2 separate regions of the Homo sapiens genome follow, and region 1 is linked to region 2. The links are contacts of gene promoters, found by promoter capture Hi-C in blood cells and fetal thymus (Javierre and others, 2016). All regions are on one chromosome and are shown on one strand. Each heading gives the region's core, a stretch centred on a gene start or on the middle of the fragment in contact. The rest is flanking DNA. Distances are from core to core; before and after follow the strand shown. Region 1 has its middle 50 kb from the start of NEUROD4. Region 2 holds the start of NEUROD4 (neuronal differentiation 4).

Region 1 (7,131 bases), core at 4,497-6,996, 52 kb after region 2:
GGTATAGGCAGGGGTTTAGGGTGGAAAAGGGTAAGAAAGTAACAATAGAATTGCTTGCCTATGCCACAGACCATTTTGTTTGGGAAGAATCTCATATTTCTGGGGCTATGGGAACTGAGAGAGGGCAGCCTCATAGCTAGCTATCCTAAATATTAGCATGTTAGGACATCAGCATAAAGGTGGCATGAGTAGACACCTCATTCGTTTTACTATTACCCCCCAAATGCCAAAAGTGAACAGAGCATCATGCAAATTTGTAGGTCATGTGTTTATCTTTGTTCTGCTGGATGTAACTGAATGGATTTTTGAAAAAACTGATTAGTTACTCAGTGATGTTCAAAGAGGCAGAATATTTGGCATGCAGATAAAATATCTGCAGGTTTGACAATTGGTTTTATACTTCATCTGATTACTTACTTTGAATCTCCCACATTACTTTCAAACTTCACTAGAATTGCTTTGCAATTTGATATATACATAATTTATTTTGTTTTTGTTTTTCACTTTGTTTCCTTGACATCTTGTTGCATTTTTAAAATTTTGCTAGATATACCTTGTCCATAGCCCTTACTACTCACCTCTCTATCCTGTCTTTTGTCAATGAAAGCAAACATGATTTACTGTATAAACGTATTCTTTTAAAAATCCAAAGTTGATGTATTTATGAGGAAAAATTTTTATAATATAAAATTAGGAATATTCCTGCTAATCAGAGACATTGGTGCAAATTCAAGGCTGAGATCAGCTCAGGGACTAGGTGTTCTCCCCAAGGGGCGATATGGGTGGATGGTGGGGTTGGCAGTTGGATCAGAGGATGACCGAATGGACAGATCTAGGCAGCTGAGATTTTGATTCTTTGATTGGAGTTGAGAAACTTAGACACAGAATAACCATGTCCCTTTCTTTGGCTTTCCTGGTGCTTAATCTTTGACGGTATCTTTTGGAACACTTTTTAAAAGAAATTACAAGACCTTCCTAATTTCTTATTGAAGTAAGTAGTAATATTGAGAATAGTCTGGCATTCAAAGCCTCCACACAACAGTCTTAATCTACCACTCTGATCACTTATTCAAATACTTCCTAATAATGTACTTTATACACTTGCCAAACCAGACCATATTTTTTCCCCATTTAATGCAGACTTGGCTTTTGGATTTTCTTAGTTACAGTGCTTTTGCTCTTACGTATCCCTTTGATTGAGATTCTTATTTTTTTCAAGCCCCCTTTTCTCCCCTCCATGAACTATTTCAATCTTGCCTGACTTATTGAAATCAGCTAAATGGGTTCTGGCTCCTTCCTTTAAGTCTTCATGATAGTTTGTTACTTCATCTGTTATTTATCACTTTTTAATCTTAAATTTCTTTTTTTTTTACTGAATTCCCAGCTGCAGTTCAGACCCTCATTTAGAGAAGTGGGTAGCCTCCTTTTATTCCCATCCCCATTCTCATCCCATCAGACCCTCATGCCTGAAAAATATATGATCTCTCATGTATATATATATATATATATGTATATCTATATATATACACACACACACATATGTATATCTATAACTGTATATATAATGAATTTAAGTACCTTTTCATCTTCAAAATTTACAATTTTAACAGGTATTGATTGATTGGCAAAGTGTTACAGATTATACAGTGCTTTCTTGCTCCATCAGTAAGGGCATACTTTATGATTGTTGGGGTCAGGAGCTAGCCTTTAAAAATAACGTCTTACTCATGGAATCTGTCCCACACATATTTATTGGAATTATAAACAAATATCTAGAGTGTTCTTTACTTCTGTAAAGTTTAAAATGAGTCTGTTTTTTCCTCCGTGCCGTCGCCATTTAGCAGTGATCCTCTGTGACTGTGGCATCCGTCCCTGAACCTGGGCCTCAGCTTGCTGGGAGCTGAGCTTTCCAGAGAGGGCTGCAGACGCTGGGAGGGTGACAGATGGCTCCGCAGCAGCAACAGTTTGAGGAAGGAGTCATTGAGGGGCATCCAGGAGGGGCGTGTGTCAGACCTTCCTACTGGGTAGAAGAAAAGACCCAACGGGGGTATACATACCAGGGGTTATTTTATAGACTGGCTTTTGCAATTTGGATTAGGGAAACAAGTGCAAAATAAAAAGCTTCTTCCTTGCCAAAGACTTATTTTTCACTCTCTTCACCATCCTCAGAAGCCTCTGCACAGGTTACTTGTCCCTGCTGTCTCTTCCTGGTCAGCCTCCGTTTGTAACTTCAGACAGAGTTCTTTTCTGATTTAACAGGTTCTGAGAGGGGTCAACACCTCTCACACCCAGGGCTAGGCCCTAACCTGACACTTGAGCTCTGGGTCATGATTTCTAGAATGCTGGTGTTCCAGGGCTGGAAGGATGCTAAGGGGGACTGAGATTTGAACCCTGAAAGTCCAAAGAAGGATCCTGCAGTGGCAGGAATGACCAGGGTGTGGACAGGATTGGGGGACTGCTATGATTTTGTTTTCATGTCTACTTCTGAGCAAATGATTAAATCTCAGGGCTTAATCGTGCTGTTGAGAGTCTGTTCACTCGCCTGCAGCCCTGGCCTAGTCCCTCCCCATGGGGCCATTAACTCTGGAAATCCTAAACCCTCTAAGCCATTTCCATTAGCTCCTCAGGATTACACTGGGTATCCACCTAGTGGCTGACAAGGAAAACTGCAGCTTGGAAAGGCTGTTCCTCAATCACCTTCTGCACAGGCTACTGGGAGAGAGAACAGGGAGGAGCAGCACCAAGGCCCAGCCATCCAGCCCACACTCCCCAGACCTGTCCCCAGTCAGCTGATTCCAGCGTCTTGTAACACTTTTCATTCAAGCAAGTTCTTCTGAAGCGCCAATCATACCGCTTTCACCAGAGGCTAAACCTACCAATTATTTTATTTTATTTTAATTTTTTAGACTGAGTCTCTCTTTGTCGTCCAGGCTGGAGTGCAGTGGTGCGATCTCAGCTCACTGCAACCTCCACCTCCTGGGTTCAAGTGATTCTCTTGCCTCAGCCTCCTGAGTAGCTGAGATTACAGGCGTGTACCACCATGCCTGGCTAAGTTTTGTATTTTTAGTAGAGATGGGATTTCATTATGTTGTCCAGGGTGGTCTTGAACTCCTGACTTCAAGTGATCCTCCTGCCTTGGCCTCCCAAAGTGCTGGGATTACAGGTGTGAGCCACTGGGCCCAGCCTATGAATTTCTTTAAATACACCATGGATCAAGTTTTAGCCTCTTTCTCTGCAAGAGTGTGATCAAGTTAGTGGTTGTGTGGTCTAGGATATTGGACTTGAGTATGGCTTGGACAAATCAATTTGTTGAAAATCCATTTCCAAATTATTAAAATGAGGATGACATTTTTTCTGTTTTACGTAATGATTAATGCTTTACAGTTCATAAAAGTGTTTTTAAAATATTATTTATATAATTCATAGTGGTATGGTAGATGGTCAAGAGATACTGTTAACATGAAAATGTAGTTTATACTACTGAGAAGTTTCATATTATTCAGGATCTTCATCCTAACAGAATTCTGAGGGAGATCTGAGGTGATTCTACCCACTTCCTAGCTGGGAAATCTGAGGTACTGAATGAGAAAGCGACTTGTCACAGAACTGGTCAGCATTGAAATAAAACTAGAGCCTGGCTTCTTCTCATGACCCTCCTGGCACCGTCCATTAGATTACACTGTCTTCAACCATCGTAATATAGACTCACCCATGAAATGATGGTATAGTGCCTGTTTCTTGCACATGCCTGAGCCAAAAGTGAGAATTCAGTTATCCTTTGACGTCGAAGAAGTAGCGGTAAGTTCCCCCTGACCACTGCATCCAGGATGTTTGTGGATTTTTTTTCAAAAACAAATTTTTCTGAGTCCTAGCTGAAGGACTGGAGAGGAAAAATACTTACTGAGCTTAATTACGTGCTGGTGACTGAGATAACTGTGGGCTATTTTACGTTTATCATTCTGACTTTAATCCCAACAACAATTCTAGAGAGAAAATATAATGAAAGAAACCAACTTATATCAAAATGAGAGAGATACAGAAGAATTTTCTGACTTAGATTGTCAAATATTTGAAGAAATATTAGACAAATAAAGCTCATGCAATTTCCTTCTCAACCATTTAAATCTTTAAGGGGCAAATGAAACATGTTTATTGATTATTAGTGCCAAATACTGTATATATCTCTTTAAAACTTACAGCAACTATCTAGTAGTATTATAATTATTCTCATTTTATAGATGAGGCAACTGAGTCTCAGAGAGATTTAAAGAAAAAAATGTTACTCTAATTCACACGGTGGTTGAGTGGTGTGGGCACGAATAGCAGGCTGAACAGTCTGATTCTAATGTCCACTCTTTTTACGTTACACTACATTGATCTACTCTGTTACATTCACATGACATAATACAAACCCAGGCCTGTGCTGTCCAATACAGTAGCCATTAGTCCTATGTGACTATTTAAATTAATTAAAATGAAATAAAGTTAAAAATTCAGTCCCTCAGTCACATAAGTCAATATTTCATATGTTCAATGGTCATGTGTGGCTAGGGGCTACTCTATACTGGAAAGAGCAGATATAAGACATTTTCATTAATGCAGAAAGTTTTTGACAGAACAAGATCCCCTCTAGATGAGAAGTGGTACAGTGGAGTGGGTGAGGGCATAGGCTTTAGAGTCAACAGATTTGGGCTTGAAACCTACTTTTCCCACTGTTATTTGTATGATGTTGTCCTTGATTAATTGTACTTTTCTTATTTAGTCCTCAATTTACTGGTTTGAAGCCTGAGGACAATAACAGATTTTCCCTCAAAGAGTTATTAGAGTCAGACAGAGAGCAGAATTCCAGAAAATTGGTAAGGAGTTGGCAGAAGTTAGCTATTATCACAAGCTATCTACAGTTTTGAAAAAAATGACTATGTTTTGTTAGAAATAGGCACAAAAGGGTATATACATATTTGATTTACTGTATTTGTAAAATAAGCCAGGTTGATATGAGAATTTTCCTAAAGCAGATTTAGTAAAAATTTTGTCCAGGAATCATATTTGTGCAAAAATTTGCTACCCTACTCAGAGTAGGGATACTATATTTCATCCTTGAATTCCTGTGGCCTAGCACAGTGTGTGTCTTGATTAGTTTTTTGTTGCTGTAACAGAATACATTATAGTGTATTCTGGGGAAACTTATTAAGAAGAGAAATTTATTTCTTACAGTTCTGGAGACTGGGATGTCCAAGGTCAAGACACTGGCAGGCTTGGTGTCTGCTTCCAAGATGGTGCCTTGAATGCTGCATCCTCCAGAGGGGAGGAACACTGTTCCTCACATGGCAGAAGAGCAGAAGGGGAACCCACTTCCAAAAGCTCCTTTATTGCAACATTAATTCATTCATTAGGACTGAGCCCTCATGACCTAAACACCTCCCATTTGGTGCCACCTCCCAACACTGTTACATTGATGATTAAGTTTCCAACACATGAGTTTGGAGTAGACAAAAACATTCAAACCATAGCAGAGCCTTACATTTAGTAGTCCTATATATGTTGGCTGAAGTGAAGTGAGAGATGGCAAGAGGTACAAAAAGGGATGGTCAGATGCATTTTGTTTTGTCTGGTCCATCATGTTGTACATCACACCACAAACCCCAGTTTCACATAAATGAGCTAGGGTGACCAACCATCCTGGTTGCCCACCTCAGAACTTTCCCTGTTTTAGAACTGAGAAACCTCTCAGGCCCAGGAAAACCAGAATATTTAGTTACCTGACTGGGTTCAGCTTTAATGAGAATCTGACTTTAAGGTCAAGTAAAAGGTTTATCTACTTCTATAGCCCAATATTACTTAAACGTGAGAGATATCCATTCCTTTTATCATCAAAATAAACAAATGAAGTTCAGCCAAAATACGAATAAGGCTCTTGATATCAGAATATCTCCTATTTTGTTGTGGGAAAGGGGGTAGGAAATGGGAAGATACTGAAAGGAGAGTGTTAGGTCAGGGAGAGCTGGAACTAGAAAAAGGTCTGGAGTGATGCAGGATTTTTCTCAGCCCCTTTGTCAGACTAATGACAGGGGTGCCCTGTTTACTTGGCCCACCACACTCAACCCTTTGTGAGAGAGAGCATGTGAGTAAGTGAGTGGGATCCAGCCAGCTGCTTTGGGCACCAGCAGGAGCAAGCTCAGTGTGGAGCCTGCAGTGGTGCCCAGGTGGGGGTGCCTGCCACCCCAAAACCCCAGAGGGCATGTTTGCAGTGCTCTCATAGCTCTGCCATCTGCAGACAGCAGTGTCTTAGCAGCTCGGTTGGCCCGTTGCCTCATTGTGTGGGGTGGCTGCCCTCTGCTGGCAAGGGCAAAGAGCCAATGTGGCAGCCTTTTTTGGGTACCTGCACTCAGTGGGTTCTGAGCTCTTGGATGCTGGACAAGAAGAATGAGGTTAGCCTTGAAGGATGGTGAAGGCGGAGAATTTTATTAAGTGATGGAAATTGTTCTCAGTGGACAGGGGAGCTGGACAGGGGATGGGACAAGCAGGTAGTCTTTCCCCCAAAGTCCGGCTGGCTCTTTCACGAAGTCCAGCCAGCTATTCCCTGAAGTCAAGCCACCTCAGTGAAGTCAAGCTGCCTCTCTTCTCTACTGACTGAGTCTGGGGTCTTTATAAGCACAGGATGGGAGTGGGGGCAGGCCATAGGTAGTTTTGGAAAAGGCCATGTTTGACTGGTAAAAAGACATTACTCAGAAAGAGCCAATTGGGAGAGAGTGGGCAAAGAGGAATGGAAGTTCTCACTTTGGGCTGCAGGTCTCAGGCCACTTTGGCATGAAGGTGGGTTTTCACCGGGGACCCGCCCCGTCTGCCTAGAATTTCTCTGCCTCCTGCCTCTATCAGGAGGACCTAAGCAAAAATTTTGCTCACTACTTAGTTTACATATTTTGTTATTCCACCGTATCATTTCTCTTAGAAATAACAGTCCCTAGAGGATCTGGGATAGAGAAAGGCCACAGTGAATGTTTATAATACTGTGAAGGAGCTGCCCTGGAAACTAAAAGATCAGGTTCTAATCCTGGTTCTGTCATGAACTATTTTTGACCTTTGATAAGTCGCCTACATTTTCAGAAATTCAGTTTCCTCTTTGGACTCTGA
Region 2 (6,631 bases), core at 314-2,813:
GTTTAATTATTCTGAAAATGAAGTTTATTTTCCTGAGCAGATATTTTTCTGGATAGGGATACAAATAAAGATAAGTAAGAGATTAAAGAGCTGCTGAAAATAAATAACTTCCCATGAAAACTGAAAAAAGTGTTAATTTTTATTTTCTTGTTTTCTGTGAAAAACAAGAGTCATATGACACATATCAGAATTAAAAATAACTATTTTCAAACTTAAGATACTCTTTTCAACTTTATGAGCAGTGAAACTATCTTTTGTTTCAGCCCTCTACAGTTTTCCTTGCACACAGGCATATTAATAGTTTTTCATTTCTGTTTGACGCATGTGCTAGTTATGTTGTTAGACCACGCGATTCTCAAAAAGCTGGGGATACTCTGGTTTCTTTTCAGATTGTATAAATGTTTTGCCTTTTGCCAAAACGCCTGAGGAATTATCCTTCAAGTCAATTTCTAAAAGAAGTTGAACTTGGATTCGTAACTCTATCAGGCTACTGATGGAAAAACTCATTTTACAGATATGAAAACTGATGCCCAGAGTGAAGTTGACTTATTCAAGATCATTCAGCCAATTGCTTAATCTGAGCACCTTTCTTTTTCCTTCTTGGAAACACAAGATGATTAGAAAATCTTTGGTATCTTAAGTTCACAATCATTTATTTTTCCTTGGTGTAGTTTTAAATAAGATAGTATGAATATCTATATACTTAAATTATTCCAGATGTAGTTTTCTTTCTGTCTTCTAGCAATTTAATTCAACCTCCTAATACCAAAGGAGTTTTAGGAATTATTATGAGCCTTCTCTTCTTCTAAGCTTATTACTACTCAGGTGGACTTTTTCTACGTGAATGCTTAATGATGTATTTTTGAAAAACAATAGTAGATCTCAGTTTGTAACTCAAGGAACTAACTGCCCTTAAAATGAAGGATTTTATTAATTTCCTTTTTGTTTTTATAAATTTAAAGTGATCAGAAAGTTGAAAGAATAGCACAACAAATATAGCTTCACCTAAATTCACAAATTAAAAGTTTTAATGAGAGTAGCTTTGACGTGCTGAAAAGGTGGGAGAGACATACTTCTTCCTTCTACTTTTAGAACGCTGAAGTTTATAAGCCAAAGACCCCAGTCCACATGTGTAAGGAAGCAGCCACTGATGCTGTGTCCTTGACACGCATCTTTCTCACCTTTTGATTCTTTTCAGACGTGGGTCAGCAGCGTCATCTGCCCTTTTTAGCTCTCTCTCCAAGTCTATCCCCAATTTTCTTTCTCCATTCTGTCCACACTACTCCGCTCCCATTTCTTATCTTTTTAATCACAAAGGTTTCCAGTCCTCTTTTTCTTTACTCCTTAACTTCAGCAACTCTCCTCCCCTGCTCCCCTTCCACCAACCCCCATCTCTATTTAAACAAACAAACGGGCGGCAAAACTGGACCTGGCCGGAGGAGCCTTTCAAGTGGGCGTGTCTTTCGGCTGGGGAAAAGGGAGGAGTTAGACTCTGGGCAACATCACTCCTCCCTGGTCAGCTGGGAGAGCAATCAAAACTGCAGCAAGTCAGAGGCTCCGGCCAGAGAGCAGGAGCTGCCCAGAGGCTTGTGGTCCTGAAAGCTCCTCTCCGGGGAGCTAACCAGGGAGAGGAGGTACTGAAGAGCGACTAAACTGGCTGCAGCGGAGAGATCAGCCCGAAGGCGTCCTTGAGGAGCATACGGAACTCCAAGGAAGGAGTAGAATAAGGAGCAGGCAGAGAAACCAGACCCGGTGGAATCTCTAAGAGGTAACAACCGGGTTTGACATGGATCGCTGAAAGCGTCTCTTCTACCATCTGGATGGTCAGGGAGACTTGGCTTCTCTGACTGTCCTCTAAGACGCAGATTCACAGAGTTCACTCCAGGAACGGCCAGTGACCGAGGTGAGCCAGTGGTTGGGGTGGTAAGGGGGCTAAAGTTTCTGTGGGAAGTTCCCACTCACCTAGAGGAGCAGTTGGGGTGAGGAAAGTCTCTTCTGGGTAAGGCAGGAGGAAGTGAGATTTAGGAAACTTGGAATGTAGAAGCTAGTGAGTTGGAACACTTAGGGACAAATATAAACATTTTAAATAATTTTATTAAATTTTATAGCACTTGCCACCCAAAGTGAAACACATAGACACTCACAATCATTTTAATAAAGTGAAGAATACAGATGATCTCCCCCAATTCCTGTCAAAGCCACTCTTTCATTTTGTTAGTGGTGAAAATGTCGAAAAGTTTAACTGCTTTTCCAAGGTGGCCCAGCAAGTAGGTTGGAAGAATTGACCCAATCCACCACTCTGCTCACAGCATTTTAGGGCTATGCAAGGACGGAGGGGGAGGCAGGGAAAGGAAAACAGAATGAGGAATCAGAGAAGATTGTGGAAAATCCTCGGGGTAGATTCTCACCATTAACTATTTTGTTTACTAAAAATGCTTGAATAGTTGGCACAGGGTGGGGGAAATTTCCTTTTCCTCAGCTCTTTCAGATGGGAAATTAGAAGAAAAAGATTGTCCAAGTATATTTTTCCTTTCTCTGCTTCACACTCATCATTTGCCCGCAAAAAAAGTATACTCAGAAAATACTAATTAAATGTAAAATACCCACCCCCATTTTTTTGACAGAGGAAGCAGAGGTGAAATGCTGAAGAACATGCAGGGAAAAATAAGGGACTGAATAACTTCTGTTAACTATTAAGATCTGAGGCAATGGCACCTGAAGTATTACATGGCTTTGCTGGACAAAATGTGTGTGTATGTGCATGCATGTACATACATGTGCACATATATTAATAAAGGGGAAAATAGTAGAGTAGAAAAGAAGAGCATAGAGCAAACTACTGGCTTTTTCCAAGCAGTACAACTTGTGAACATCCTGATTTGGATTCTGTCTTTTTAGTGCCAAGACTGTGCAACTCTGGGAAAAGAATTTAGTCTATTTAGTTCTTAGATTTCCTAGAAACTGGGCTGGACAGCCCCCTTTCTGTTGTATTTAGTCATCGGATCAGGAGGTAAAGAGATTATCACCAGCTTTTAAGAGGAAAGACACCATCTAACTACCACAAATCCACATGTGAGTTCCCCTTACCTATTAATTAGTTGAAATATCTCCACAATAAATAAAAAATTTGTAAAAGTGTAGAAAGAATTCCAGGATAGCTTCACATAGTAGTAATGCTTAACGACTTTGGCCCTAGTAGTAAAAATATTCAGTAGTAACAATCATTGCCTAAGCAAACACTTTGCTAGAACAGATTTAAAATTTTTAAAAATATGAGAAATATTTTGAATTAAAGAGAATTGGCCAAACTTGAAATTTCACTGAAAGACCCTATAGAACGAGGAAAATTCTGTTATATTGTGTAGGTATAAAAGAAAATCCAAATACCAAATGGCTAAAAATGGACTTTATAAGACCAGAATGTGTTTATGTGTATGTGTAGGGAAGGGCCAGATTCTGCCCCTTGAGCCAGTATTCATTGATTTTTGTCATGTTCGAGCCTATTTCCTATGTAATTTGTGAGCTAATTTCTTTCCTAGGAATTGAGGCAACCTTAAGATGGTATATCATGATGCTTTGTGAGATAGTGCTACAGACTTTCTCAAACAGCTTCTGTAAAACAATTGCCAACCCTCACATTGGCATAACAATTTTACAAAGTACTTGTGCTTGCATTATCTCCTTATTTTTCATGAAAACTTCTAAATGATGTAGCAAAGACAATCTTATTTTCATTTTGCCCTAAGGGTACAAAAATTACAATAATTACAATAATTTTTCTGTGCTCCTTTAATGAGTGAATGATGAAACAGTCTTGGTTCCATGCTTCTTTCAGTACACCTGTGAGATGGTTCCTTAACAGGCTGAAAGCAACATTAGATTTAGGCACCTGTTCTGGAGACAACCCTTGGTTTCTTTGATCACAACTTTTGTTGTGATCAGTATGTGTGATCACAGTACACATATTTTCAACACTCAAATTTAAAACTAGATGTTTCTATTTTTTTCCTGTTAACCTTTTTGATGCATTGAAAATATTTAGGTGAAAAAAGTCAGATAAACATTTTTCTTTATATTTCAGGAGTCTTGGCTTTCACTGCTTTCACTTCTCTCTGATAGACACTGCATATTATCCTCAGAGCTCTGCCATTTGGTTTTGGTGGGAAAAATTGTATTCGCAATACAGAAGGTTCATGAATCTGAAAATGTATGTGATTGAATAGGAGTGTCAAGCTAACTGTTTTCTCCCAATTATAAAACAGAGTGAAAGTTTGGGAGCTAACTTCCATCTTGAATATGATGGAAGAGTTCTAGTCAACTCAGTGGAGGCAGTTGATAGGGCTTGGTTTCCTTACCTCTTGCTACAGAACAGAAACTTTGATTTCAGTTTCAATAGGAGACTGGAGGAGTAGGTGTATTGGGGAATTTTTTCAAATAGATGTTGAAATGAAGCCATTGGCTTTTGTTGATGCAAAATCAATATTAATAACAGATTCTAATTATACCTATTCTTGTCCAAGTGGCCAGAAAAATTCATGGTGATGTTTAGGAGAACAATACCTAAAACTTAACATGAAATTCATGTTGTATGACACTATTCAAAATGCTTCAAATATATCAACTCATTTTATGCTCCTAATAATCCTATGAGGTAGGACTGTTATTATTCTCATTTTAAGGAGAAGGAGACTGAGGCAGATAAGGGTTATGAAACTGGCCTAAATTCATGTATCTAGTGAGTAGTGGAGCTGAAGTTTGAATCCAGGTAATCTGACACTGGAGTCTGTGCTATCTATCCCACCATGGGAAAAATGATAGGCTACTGAGTAACTGTCAGATGATTTTCTAAACCAATCAGAGGTAATATCCAGATAATAAGAGACACACTAGTTGATACAGTCTGTTTTATTATTCATCTGTGAGAAATAATTTTTATTTTTGAATAAGCAAACGTGTGTGAATAGATTAGATAAGAAAACCCAAGAATAAACAGGAAATAAATGTATAGATGTTTTATAGCATTTACAGCTATAAAATTTTTTATTATATTTTTCTCTTACAAGAATCACATAACCTGTATGTTAGCCTTATTTTATTAGAGGAAATGGAAGAACAGATAACTTTATATAATGTGTTTGGGATCAACAACCCAGGAATTAGAAGAATTGGGACTAGAGTTCACATTTGTGTTATTCTAGCTTCCATTCTTTTGAAACCATACTATATACTCATGGGATTCTCTTGGAAGTTAATGGACCGGCACCTGTGAGAACAGAGGAAGTTAAACTGGAGCCATCTGTGTCCTTCCCATGATTAGTAAGAGAACAAAGGTGAAAGAAAACTGGTTGACCTTTTCATTACTTTGGCCAAAGCCAGTTGATTCTTTTCCTTTATACCCACCAACAAGCTGATTTGAAAGCAGCTCCTTGACTCTTACAGAAACCATTAAATATGTTAGAAGTAAAAGATGGTCTATTCTATCCTCCCAATCTCACTTATTTTGATGTGTGTGAATATTGACAGATCTTAAAAAGAGTCCAGAGGTATAGAGGTAGGGATGGTGAAAAAGGCTAAATCCCCCACCTAGGATGGTATTCAGATCCAGGGACAATTCAGGAGACTCTCCTCTCTTGCACCTTCCTTCTTTCCTTCCTTCTCTCCTTTTCATGCATCTCAGTATGAGCCAGTGATCATAATGATAATGAAGATAAGAGAATGAGGATAAGGAGAAAAAGGGGGAGGATGAGGAAGAGATGATGATCTCTTGGATGATGATCACTCCTGTTGACTCATTTCTATTGCTGTACATCTCCTGAAGCCAAAGTGCCTTTCTTTCTTCCTATAGCTGTGATAGAAGAAGAACAAGGAAAATAAAAACATAAAACCTAAGATGTAAAATAAGAAGAATTAATTTTATGTCCCACTCCACCAGAACTATATCTTTGCATTTCCATCACTTAAACTACCTGACCCACAGTGACCTTGAGTATAAAATGAGCATAAAAATTTCTATCTCCCTCAAAGGTTTTCTATAAGAAACATATGAATTAATGGATACAAAAGTGCTCTGTAAACTTTAAAATGCTACACAAATGTTATTATAATTACATGGGGAGCATTAGGTTTCCCAAGCCCACTCCATCCTTTTTGGCCTTAGAGTGCACCTGCCTCTGGAAGAGCTGTGTTACTTTAACAGAAAGTTAATTAGGTTCTTTACCCTCCCTCTGGATATCTGCCTGAGTTAGAAGTGCAGCTCAGCACACAAGCTCTATCATCCATATTAAAAGTGGGATTTTCTGAGTTGGCCTGGGCAGCTAGTTGACCAATAAGTTCCAATGTGTGTTTTCAATAAAGCTGCTTACCCAGGAAGCCTTATTAAGTGAGTAAGTCAAGCTGACATGATTTCCGTGCTGATTAACATGAAACCTAGGCTGCTTTCGCAATGCAGTTACATTAATTATTTATAGGAGGTAAATGAGGTTACAAGGAAAACAAGCTCCAATTACCAGAAACAAATCAAATAATATATCTTTATTTTTAAAAGCTATGTACTAATCCCTGGGTTCATTGATTTGAGGCTCAAGCATCAAAGAACAGAAAACATTTATTACATTCTCCTCTTTCTCATAAT

Evidence for each region. Contacts are between HindIII fragments. The CHiCAGO score rates a contact against its expected background, and 5 or more counts as called.
Region 1: a contact is called between a fragment that was not itself captured here and the fragment with the promoter of NEUROD4 in region 2, in 1 of 17 cell types (neutrophils). The highest score is 5.5, in neutrophils.

Annotation. Positions count from the first base shown.
Region 1 is chr12:55,065,965-55,073,095 of GRCh38, forward strand. No RefSeq gene overlaps it. Among named protein-coding and RNA genes, the nearest start is that of NEUROD4, 50 kb to the left of the region's middle. RefSeq lists an enhancer at 2,355-2,905 and a silencer at 2,481-2,775. The HindIII fragment of the contact is 7,255 bases long and covers 2,120-7,131 here.
Region 2 is chr12:55,018,411-55,025,041 of GRCh38, forward strand. NEUROD4 (neuronal differentiation 4) reads left to right here and starts at 1,564. Exons shown (of 2, transcript NM_021191.3): 1 at 1,564-1,903. It overlaps LOC101927484 (a long non-coding RNA gene), which reads right to left. Exons shown (of 5, transcript XR_245987.4): 5 at 5,078-5,845. The HindIII fragment of the contact is 8,784 bases long and covers 809-6,631 here.